Linked DNA regions of Homo sapiens: region 1 is linked to region 2. The links are contacts of gene promoters, found by promoter capture Hi-C in human tissues and cell types (Jung and others, 2019). All regions are on one chromosome and are shown on one strand. The core of a region is centred on a gene start or on the middle of the fragment in contact, and the rest is flanking DNA. Distances in the headings are between cores, read along the strand shown.

Region 1 (5,224 bases), core at 2,274-4,773, 1.1 Mb after region 2:
CTGGACAGATAATCCTCCTGAGGAAACCCCCTCAATAATGAAGGTATTACAAATAATACATGTTATACCATCCACTAGACCTTATTTGGTTCTTGGCCATAACGAACAGTGGTCTTTAGGAGGATGTCACAGCTCCCCGGCACTAAAGTGTGTCTAGGACTCATTTTCATAACTTAATGCACAAATATCCAAAAAGGAATCAGCAGCTGTCTCTCCTCGAGTTTCTTTTACCTTCCTTTCTTTTTTTTTCCTTTTTCTTTTCTTTTCTTTTCTTTATTTATTTATTTATTTTTGAAATAGGGTCTAGCTCTGCTGCTCAGGCTACGGTGCAGTGGTGCAACCATGACTCACTGCAACTTCAAACTCCCTGGTCCAAGGGATACTCCCACCTCAGCCTCCCAAGTAGCCTGGACTACAGGCACATGTCACCATACCTGGCTAATTAAAAAAAAAAAAAAAAAAAAAAAACTTGTAGAGATGGGATCTCCCTATGTTGCCCAGGCTGGTCTTGGACTCCTGGGCTCAAATGATCCTCCTGCCTTGGCCTCCCAAAGTGCCGGGACCACAGCCATGAGCCACTGCACCTACAGCCCCACCCATCTAAAAAACAAAACAAAACAAAATCAAAACTTTTCTACAGTACAAGAATTCTATGTTTATGTAATAATTGAAAATAATATTTTATCAATACAACTTCTGACTAAAGTATGGTTGCAGAGCTCTGGGATTAGTGCTGTGTACGAGGAATGGGAAATTAGACAGTATGTGTGCTTATTCACTCCACAATATTCTGTTGCAAAAACCATGGCAGTTAGTGGGGACAGCGTTGACTCAAAATGAACAAGTTAGTTGGAAGGAAGGAAGGAAGGAAGGAAGGAAGGAAGGAAGGAAGGAAGGAAGGAAGGAAGGAAGGAGAGGGAAAGGAAAGGGAGAAAAAGGAGACAGACAACAAAAAAGAAGGAAGGAGGGAGAAAGAAAAGAGTCAATGTGTCCTGTTTACATGAAAACCTTTTAAAGCACAATATTTCTTCAAGGCAGGCAGAGATAAAACAGATCACTTTTCAATAATTTACTCTGAGTTACTAAGATCTTTATTTTTCTTTTTCTCTTTTCTTTTTTGAAGGAGAATATTCAGGTTGATAATCAGGGTTAAAGTACCATGATATTGTAAAAGTCAAATACACAACTACATGCTTCTTTTGCAACCAAAATTTCCTTTATTGTATACATTTAAGAGTTGTGATACTTATTCTACTTCACTGTAAAAACAAAGAAATGTCACACTTAACACCTGCAGGTAGAGACAAGTTACGTTCATGTTAAATTCATGGCAGTAACATAGCATCTTTTTCAGTTTCATTTAAGATTCTGCTTTTCAGAATTCATTTGCCACTACCCGTTTTAATGCCTAGAATTGTGTTAAAGAATATTAGTTCTCTAATCTTCACTTAGTTTTATAATATTTAATGCTCTTTTGACTTCAGAATATTTCCTTAAATAAAAAAGATATACATATATTTGCAGTATATATATTCATAATTGTATATGCTATTACATGCATGCAATATACATATATGTATATATACATTTGCATACAAACACACACACACACATTTCTATGTATTTGCATCTTGACCATGTATTAAATACCTGAGTTTTTTCTCAGTATAAACTTTAGGATATATTCTAGAAATGTTATTAAGAATGAAGAAAGAAGACTGAAAGAGAGAAAATGCATTCTATTCCAAAACTAAATAATATTAGGTTGGCATACATTGACTTTCAATGGCATAAACCTCAATTACTTTTGTGCCAACCTAAAAATTCAAAAGATTTTAGTCTAATGTAATTTTATTATACAATGGAAAATTATTTTAGCAGTTAAAAATACTTGGTAAGATCATCAATGCCATGCATACAGTTGGGGCTACAATAAAACACATCCATATTAATGTACATAAATGCTGAAAGGGAAAATCATGCATTATTTTAGGTTGTAAAGTTTTAAGTTAGAGATTTCTATCTAACTTTTTAGGCCTCCTGAGTCCTGATCCTTCAAGGATGCCTTATAGATTGGTGGTTAACACCATCAAAGATGGAGTAAACAGACTAACCTAAATAGAATCCTGGCTCTGTTATTTAGTACCTGTGTGCCTTTAATTTAGATATGTCTAGTCTCTGAATCTATTTTCCTAATGTAAAATACTACCTAACTCTGCATTTATTCAAAGAATTAGAAGAGACAGAATATGCCAAGTTCTTTTGCACAGAAAGTTTTACATTTTAAGAGCTAGGTAAATGGTGACACATTATTATTATTATCATTATTATTATATAAGAAAAATGAATCAGGCAATAAGATTATTTGGGGCAAAGATGGGAGTAGGGAAATTATAGGTTAGGGAAAAGGAGGGCAGGCTTGTTACTTGTTTTGTGAAAAAAATGATATACTTTAAGGAATTGAATTCATTGAGTAATTTCTAAGTTCTCCATTTTAATTGGGGTTTTTGTTCACTGACTCTGTGATTGTTACTTGGTTCATCTGAATTTTATTTCTAAAAGTCTCTTTATCATGAGAGAGGAAAAATGTAGGTAAAAATGATTGATATAACACTCAAACACTGTCTGCTGTTTTATGTACTCAAACAAAAGTGTTAAGTGTATGCTTCAAGAATAAATTATAATTATCAGCTTTTAGAATAAAGAAAGCCTTCGGTTATAGAATGGTTCTGCCTAAATGATACAAACGACTCAGTTATCTCACTGCTACTACATCTTTTAGCTCTATCAACCTGCTATTTGATACAAAATTAGAAGTGATTTTTAAATATTTCTAAATTCCTCCACTTCATAGGTCAGAGTTACCCCAAAATGAACACTACTTTATGCTGATTTCATTAGTCATAGGGAAGCAACTAAACAAAAACTTGAAATTCTGCAACCTGGATTCACAATCCCCACTCCCTGCTTCTCTATTATCTTAATAATCATATGAGATTCAGAAATTAAGCTGGAACACTCTGATCTAAACTGCGCAAAGTTGAATGCAGTTAAAAAATCTTATAACAATTTCCAAGGTGACATGGTTTACCTTGAAAGTGCTGCATATGTATTGAAAGCAAAGCTTTGACTTTAGGAGAACTATCAGGTTTGGGGTAAACAAATAAATTTCAAGGTTTGAGTCCACAACCTAAAGGTCAAAAGATACATGATGTGGATGTATGTGACACTGCTTTACACTGAAATAATTATGCAGAGATTAACTTCATAGTGATTAAAAAAACTAAAATTGTATTCAAATGAGTATTTCAGATTACTATGTTAATTTGAAACAGTGGAACGTCACTGGTCTCATCTAAGGTAGTATCTGATCTTGTTGTCTCATGACTGAGACAATTGAGGACACAAAGAGAGTGAGGTTGGAGTGAAAGTTTAATAAGTGAAAGAAAAAAGCTCTCCTCAGTGGAGAGGGGAACCCAAGTGGGTTGCTGTTTTTACAGTTGAATCCAAAAGCTTTTATGAGAAACTCCTCTCATCTCTATAGCTGTTTGAGTAACTTCTCTTATCCATAAAGCTGTCTGCATAATTCCCCCTTGCGTATGTAGTTCTGGGTATGTCTCTAGGCAGGCACAATGTGCACTTCTTTTGTTTGTATAAATGTGGGTTTGTTTTAGGTAAGCCCCTCTCCTCCCTGTGCAAGTTCCCATCGTATACATGTCTGAGAAGGGGAGGAAACTTTTCCTGGGTGCCTGCCAATTACACAAAGAACAAAAGGCTTCTGTGTTGGACCATGCCTGCTTTGCCTGCTTATCTGTGCAGGTGCAGCCCAAGTTTTCCCCAGCCTGCTCTATTTTTGCCTGTAGCTGTGATTTTTCAGGCAGGGTGCTTCTCTGAGGACCAGCCTTAACTGTTTACCTAATTGGTGTTTATCCTTTTCTTCTGTATCAAATTGATGGCTGCTAAAGAGTTCTGCAGAAACTAGCTAAGTTACATGATAGAATTTTGTAAGTGAATGTTGCTTTTAAGAGGTTAATGTATTTTTATTTGTTGAGTTCCTGTGAAGATGTTACTTTTTATGTCTATTTGTTACCCGTTTTTCTAACTATAATTTATATTTAATCCTTTGGTAATAATAATTACATTTTGCACAAGTACAAGAAATACTACATTAGAAAAAGACAAACACAAACCATGTCATCTACAGACAGAAATTTTGCTTCATTTGTTTTATTTGCACATGAGCAAACAAAAATGTGGGAGAGAAAAATATTGAAAGTTGTGCTTTTTAAAAATTTTTTATTGCAATAATTGTTTCAGAGTCCTCTTTTTAAATATTCTTGGCTACAAAATCATACCTTTTATTTTATTACTCTTCATTTGATAATATGATTAAACATTTTCTGCTTAAAGTATTTAACATTTGGAAAACACAGAATTTCAACAAATAAAAATTTTAGAAACTTTTGGTTATAAACAGTATTTCATTTATATCATCTACTCAATGGGATTGCTTAGGGAAAAGAGAGTACATACAGCTAACGGACATATTTGATAATTGCATACCAAGAACTTTCTTCTGAAACAACAGCTTGCAATTTTAATGCCCTTTCCTTTAATACATAGTAATGAAAGGGAATCTGAGTTAGATTATAAAATGAGTTTATGAAAGCCCACCAAACTCTGGAGAAAAAACACATCATTACTGGCTCTATGAGTGAACTTTCAGGTAGAGAATGTCATACTCAATGTAAGAGTATATTTTAAAGCTTTCTCTGTAACTTTTCTTCAATTAGTTATTAAACATTTGACACCAGAAATATTAATATACACAAGCTGTCCACAGGAGTTCCTATTTCTACAGAAGAAATAAACATGTAAACAGACACAGAATGTAGCATGTTTTCATAGTGTATAGACATATCACTTTAATGACCCATAAAAGGAAATAACTAACTTGAAAGCCTGAGCAAACCCATCCATCATACATACATAAATAATCCATATGTACATCCACATGGTTACAATTACTGCCTATTGATTCACTGCTTCCAAATATTTATCTTTAGCCAAGACTCTTAGTGAGTTCAAGGTTCAAATATTTAACTATATACTTGCATTCCCATGTAGATGTCCCCTGGGCAAAACTCAAATCATTCAGAAGTTTTTCTGTACAAGTCAAGAAAACTTATTTATTGGCTGAAATAGGAAAAAAAATGGGTAACTT
Region 2 (5,288 bases), core at 2,701-5,200:
ATTAGATATTGGACACTATTGAGTATACCGTATTCTGAAAAATACAAATACAAAAATTCGATTCGATTACCTGTCCTATGTCCCCATTTATAACAGAACCATTTCTTGTGTTAAGATATAAATGAAATGTGATGGACCACGAGAGTTGGTAATTGTCAAAACTGGCCAGTAAGTATATCATTCTCTCTACTTTCCTATGTTTGATAATTTCTATAATAAAAAATTTTAACAAGACAACAATATATGTGGTATGTATAGATAACATTTCTAAAAGCTAAAAAGTGAATTTTTTAAAGTTATTTATCTTTATGAAAATTATTCCCATAACCATTGTATGTTATTTTCCTGGCAATGTCACCTCAGATTCCACCTAGTCCCAAATAAGCTACTATTAGTACCTTTATTACATATCATGACAGCTACTAGAAAATAATTATTCCCTTCCATCTGGTCAATACTCTTGCCCGAGATGCAAAAACCTAAATGTTTGTTTCTGCTTTCTGATCCTCAGTCCTTTTATTGTTTTTTGCTCATCCATTACAAAATTCCAGAATAAAAAAGTGAAAACATCAATTTTACTGTATTCATGTGTAAAATGTAAGGGAAAAAAACCAAATATTATTTTGTTCAATATTACAGAAGACCAATAGTTATAAGTGGCCGTTCCTTTTAAAACTCATTTCCCATGGTAAGAGACTGTTGCATCTGAAATGAAGTTAACATGTCTGTCAGTCAAAGGAAATTAGTAAATCTTACTCTGAAATCAAGGAATCTATGAAAGTATATATAACAACATATAATTACTCTACATGCAACAATCTAATAGCTCAAATAATGTCCTTTATCCCGGGGCCATATTCCATAGTTCGACAGAGAACACATAGCAGTAAGGGGATAAAACACCTTTCATCTCAGAGTTTTTGGCTAATTTTAGTTTAATAAAGACTTATCTACAGCTCAATAGCCAATGCTTTACATTGTCTATAGAGAAATTGCAAGTGTTGAATGAAACCTTAAATGCAGATAGAAGGGCAGTAATATTTTGCGGTTTGTAAGTAAGACTATATGTAATAATATCCACATCTTAATTCATTACTTGGGAGCTAAATCCCTTTTCTCATGTTACATCAAAAAAGGAGGCTGTGCCTAAAGAGACAGTGTTCCTTATACTTATGATTTGGGAAGGAAGGGAAGGGAAAGAAATCTCAACTGTCACTACAGTAACTCTTTTCTAAGTATTAAAATCTCCATTTATTTTTACATGAGATGCACCTGAGAGGAGCCATGTATACAAACCACTTTTTCTAACATGGTCTTTATTAAACTTTGAATATAAGTACACCTGCTCGAAGTGTTCATCTATATTATTTAAGAACAAGCAACTGTAAAACAGTAAAATCACAAAAGGTAAGTTGTTGGAAGACAACAAAAAAGAATTACTATATCTGATCCTGCGTGTTTATTTTAGAATCTGTTAATAGGCCTACAGCTAAAAAAAAAAAAAAAATTGTAAAGCCACTGTCATACTGGTAGGTACCTTTATTTGGTGGCAATGGCTAGTTCAAACCACCTATTAAAAGCAGCTATTACTTTCCTTCTTTTACCAAGAATATCCAGACCATCAATATTATTATAAACACAAATCAAAACTAGTTTCTCATCTCATCTCAGAATGCTAAAATCCCAAGCTTCAATAAAAAAAAGATTTCCCATACAATTGCAGAAATTTCTCTCAAAAGAGAAATGAGAGAATACAGAAAAATGAAGACAATTCCCCCTTACACGTCAAAATGGGGATGCCAATAATGACAGCTGCGATAAAAATCAAGAAGGCGTACCCCGAATTTTCACCATTTTAATAAAAGAAAATCACGAAATTTTAAATTAAAGGTGGCGCTCTGTCCTCAACTCACCCGAATGTGACTCACTTTTGCAGACTATATGGTAGGAAATTAACAGTTACTTTTCAAAGATCTTTGCAGTTACACCCAAGCCAAAATCAGGACAGAGATCCACCCTTAATTACAGCAATTTAGCTGTCTTATCTAAAGCAAGGTAAAAACTAAAACGTCCTCCTGAAATCATAGCTAAATAAGCCCATTTCATATACTAGCTATCAAAGGTTCCCAATTAAAAAAAAAATGTTTCTATTTACTTCAAATTTGAACTCACCAGGAGGATAAAGAAAAAGAGAGGGGAGGAGGAGGACCCAAATGAAACGCACAAGTACAAAAAGCAGATTCTCCTCCAATCCCTCTTAATTCCCCCAATCCACCCCTGCCACACACAAGGACAGGGAGTCTCGGGAAGGCTGGCATCGGGGCAAGTGGTGAAGGCCCTCCATTCACTCACGTGGGCCACCATCCAAAGGGTTACACACCCTCTGCCAGATGAGAGCCTCATACAAACCAGGCCCTTACAAGTACTTCTTATTATAAAATACACCCACGCTGAACAAAAGCCTTATTTTAAAATAAGACTGTCCTCAGGTGGGGGAGGTTAAACACAACAAAGGCTTCCATGTTGACAGGCAGACAAGTTCAGATATATGCATATACCTACACACGTATGAAAAAAATCTATGTAGCTAATTTATCACGAACAGCAATCGATACCAACAGAAGCCATTAGATTATTAATAAACCAAGAAAAGTAGCGGGCACAGAAGCGAAAGGTGGCTGTCTGCAGCGCTCTAACCCAAAGAAAAGGTAAATATCAGCCTGTCGAGGAGGGTCGAGCCCTCCAAGTACCTGCAGACCCCTTTAACCCACCCGGACGCCCTGCCCTCCCCTCCGAGCCAAGCAGCGCACAGGGTGCGAGCACTCCCAGCGCTGCGAGTCCCGCAGAAAACTGGTGAATGAAATGCGCACAGAGACCAACCTGGCTGGTGACCGCGGCGCAGAACCAGGGGTCGCTAACCAGCTTAGCCACAGGATTCTCCCGCAGGATGGGATAAAGAGAGCACAGCCCCCACCCCACACCCCTGCCACTGGAACGCGGTCCTCCTACAGACTCCTTCCTCAAAAAGGGAGGTGGGGGCGCAGGCTTTTTTCTCTTAAACTAAGTGAATAAACACGAATCGGAAACAACTGTGAACATCCTGGGGGGCCAGACGGAAGGCGTGAGGAGAAAGACCAGGCGGCTCTCCAACTCCCGAGGAATCACCGTCCTGACACGCCAACAATCAACCACCAGGGCCAGGGGCCGACCAGGGGCCCCCGCTCCCCTCCCGCAGTGCGTCTGGGGGGCCGAGGCCAAGGATTAGAGGGGTGACCCTCCCGGGGCGCGGGGAGAGGGAGTGCCGGGCACGGTGCCCTCAAGGTCACCACGCGCCGTGGCGGGGGCGACCGGTGGCGGGATGGGCTGTGGCGCGGCCGAGGCGGCTTCGTGAAGCCGAAGACCTGCGGGTGTAGACCAGAAGCCCCAACAAGCCCCATCCCTCGGGCCCGGAGCAGCGACTCCCAGACTGACCCGGCGCTGAGGTGCACGGCGAGAAGCCCGCTCACCTTCACAATCTCCCGGCAAGAGGCAACCTGCGAGGGGCCCCGACCGCCCCCGTCAGCTTCTCCCGAATCCGGCGCAACCCGCTGCGCACCCAGCTATCAGGATCCCCGCCGCGACGCCCGACCTCCGTGCTCCGCCTGGCCTCCCCCGCAGGTGACCTGCCCCGCCGCCCCCGGCCGCGGGCGGGCGGCGGCCGCCACTCACCTCGCCCGGCAGTGGGAACCATTTTCCGAGGGGGAAGGAAAGGCAGGCTGCGGGAGGGTCGCGGGGCGTTAAGGGGCAGCGGGAAACGCAGAGGATGGGGGCTCCGTCCTCAGCGCGTCCGCAGCCGGCTCGCAGGGCTCGGGGCGCCACGCGGAGGTGCAGCTGCACCTCGGGGATGGGGCGGCCAAGGAGCCGAGAGGCTCGGCGTCCACCAGCCGGGGCTCCCTACTCACGCTGCACTGCGAGGAGGCGGCGGCGGCAGCGAAGGAGGAGGAGGCGGCGCCCGGCCGTCCCCGCCCAGAGCCCGGCAGCCACCGAGTGGCCGCCCGCGTCCCCGCAGGACCCGCCTCCTCGGCTCCGCAGAGCGGCACACAGGGCGCGCCGCGCTCGCTCGGCACGGGCAGCTCAGCCGGCCTCACGCCGCCGTCCGCAACAGCAGCCGCGGGCGGGGTGCAGCCACCTCCGTGAGCGCCGCAGCCCGCCCCACTCGGGGCGGGGCCCGCGGGCACCGGAGAGCGGACGGCCGAGCACGAGGGGGCTGCGCGCAGCTCCGGGCAGGGACCCCGTCTGCACCGGGTGGCCTGCAAGATTGCCGGGGTAGGCAGGGGGAGGAGAACGCTCACCCGTTCCGGTCTGGCGCTCCCTTTTCTCCACACCCACACGCCTCCCGCTCCACGCTGGCGGCGCAGCTGCTCCCGCTGCCACAGCCGCCACCGCCGCCGAAGCTCGCGCCGCCGCCGCTGCCGCCTTGGCTGAGCGCGGTCACGTGACGCGATCCGCGGGGAGCCTGGGGGCGGGCGAGTGCGCGCGCGCGCGCGCGGAGGAACCGCGGCTCGGACCGGGACTGGGAGCTGAGCGGCACTGGGAGGGCGTTTAAGGGGAGGACCCGGCGAGCGCGCCCTCGGCTGGCGAGCGCGCGCCTGGCGATTAGAACTTGCCGCGCGGTCGGGAAAGGGTGGCCGGAGTGAGGGGCGGAGGTGGGGACTTGCGCCTCCGCACGCCCCTCCCTTTCTTCCTTCCCCTGAGCGCCTTGGCTTGCCGCTGCCCCCGCCCCCTCCAGCGCGCCCCTTCCCTCCTGCCGCAGCCTGCGATTGGCTGAGAGGCTCTGACGTCCGTGTTTCCATGACGTGTTGGTGCAGGAGGGAGCGGCGGGGGAGGAGGGGGTGGCCAGGCGCGCGGGGAGGTGACTCCGTCAGTCACAGCTGCTGTTTCGGCGCGGGGCCGGGCCGCTGCCGCGACGTGTGGAGGCAGGAGAGCGATGATTGCCGCAGGAGAAGTGCGGGCGCCCTTCACCTGGGGCCCCTCCCGAACCGCCCCCGGGCCCATGCCCCTCCAGGGCCCAGGAGCGAGCCAGCGGGAGGGCGAGGGCGAGCGCTCCTGGCGAGGACAGATTAAGGCGAACCCCCAGTCAGCGGACATTTGAGCGGCTCCTCGCCGCGTCTCTGCCCCCACTCCAAACCGGACTCGACGCCTGTCCCGGGCCGTGACGCACGCACCGGAGGAAAAAGTGCTTCTCGGCTCGCTCCCTCTTTGGGGAAGAGAGCTCACTCCCCATGCGGGCGCGGGACACTCCATCTCTG

What was found. The method cuts DNA at HindIII sites, captures the fragments that hold promoters and counts their contacts. A contact is called where the count stands out against the background at its distance.
Region 1: a contact is called between a fragment that was not itself captured here and the fragment with the promoter of ATP2B1 in region 2, in 1 of the 25 tissues and cell types used here (dorsolateral prefrontal cortex).

The regions. Positions count from the first base shown.
Region 1 is chr12:90,854,749-90,859,972 of GRCh38, forward strand. No RefSeq gene overlaps it. Among named protein-coding and RNA genes, the nearest start is that of LINC00615, 61 kb to the right of the region's middle. The HindIII fragment of the contact is 3,936 bases long and covers 1,556-5,224 here.
Region 2 is chr12:89,704,888-89,710,175 of GRCh38, forward strand. ATP2B1 (ATPase plasma membrane Ca2+ transporting 1) reads right to left here and starts at 3,951. Exons shown (of 21, transcript NM_001366521.1): 1 at 3,709-3,951. It overlaps ATP2B1-AS1 (ATP2B1 antisense RNA 1), which reads left to right and starts at 4,068. Exons shown (of 1, transcript NR_028138.1): 1 at 4,068-5,288. RefSeq lists enhancers at 2,830-2,919, 2,930-3,029 and silencers at 3,220-3,449, 3,600-4,619, 4,640-5,189. The HindIII fragment of the contact is 9,648 bases long and covers 1-5,288 here.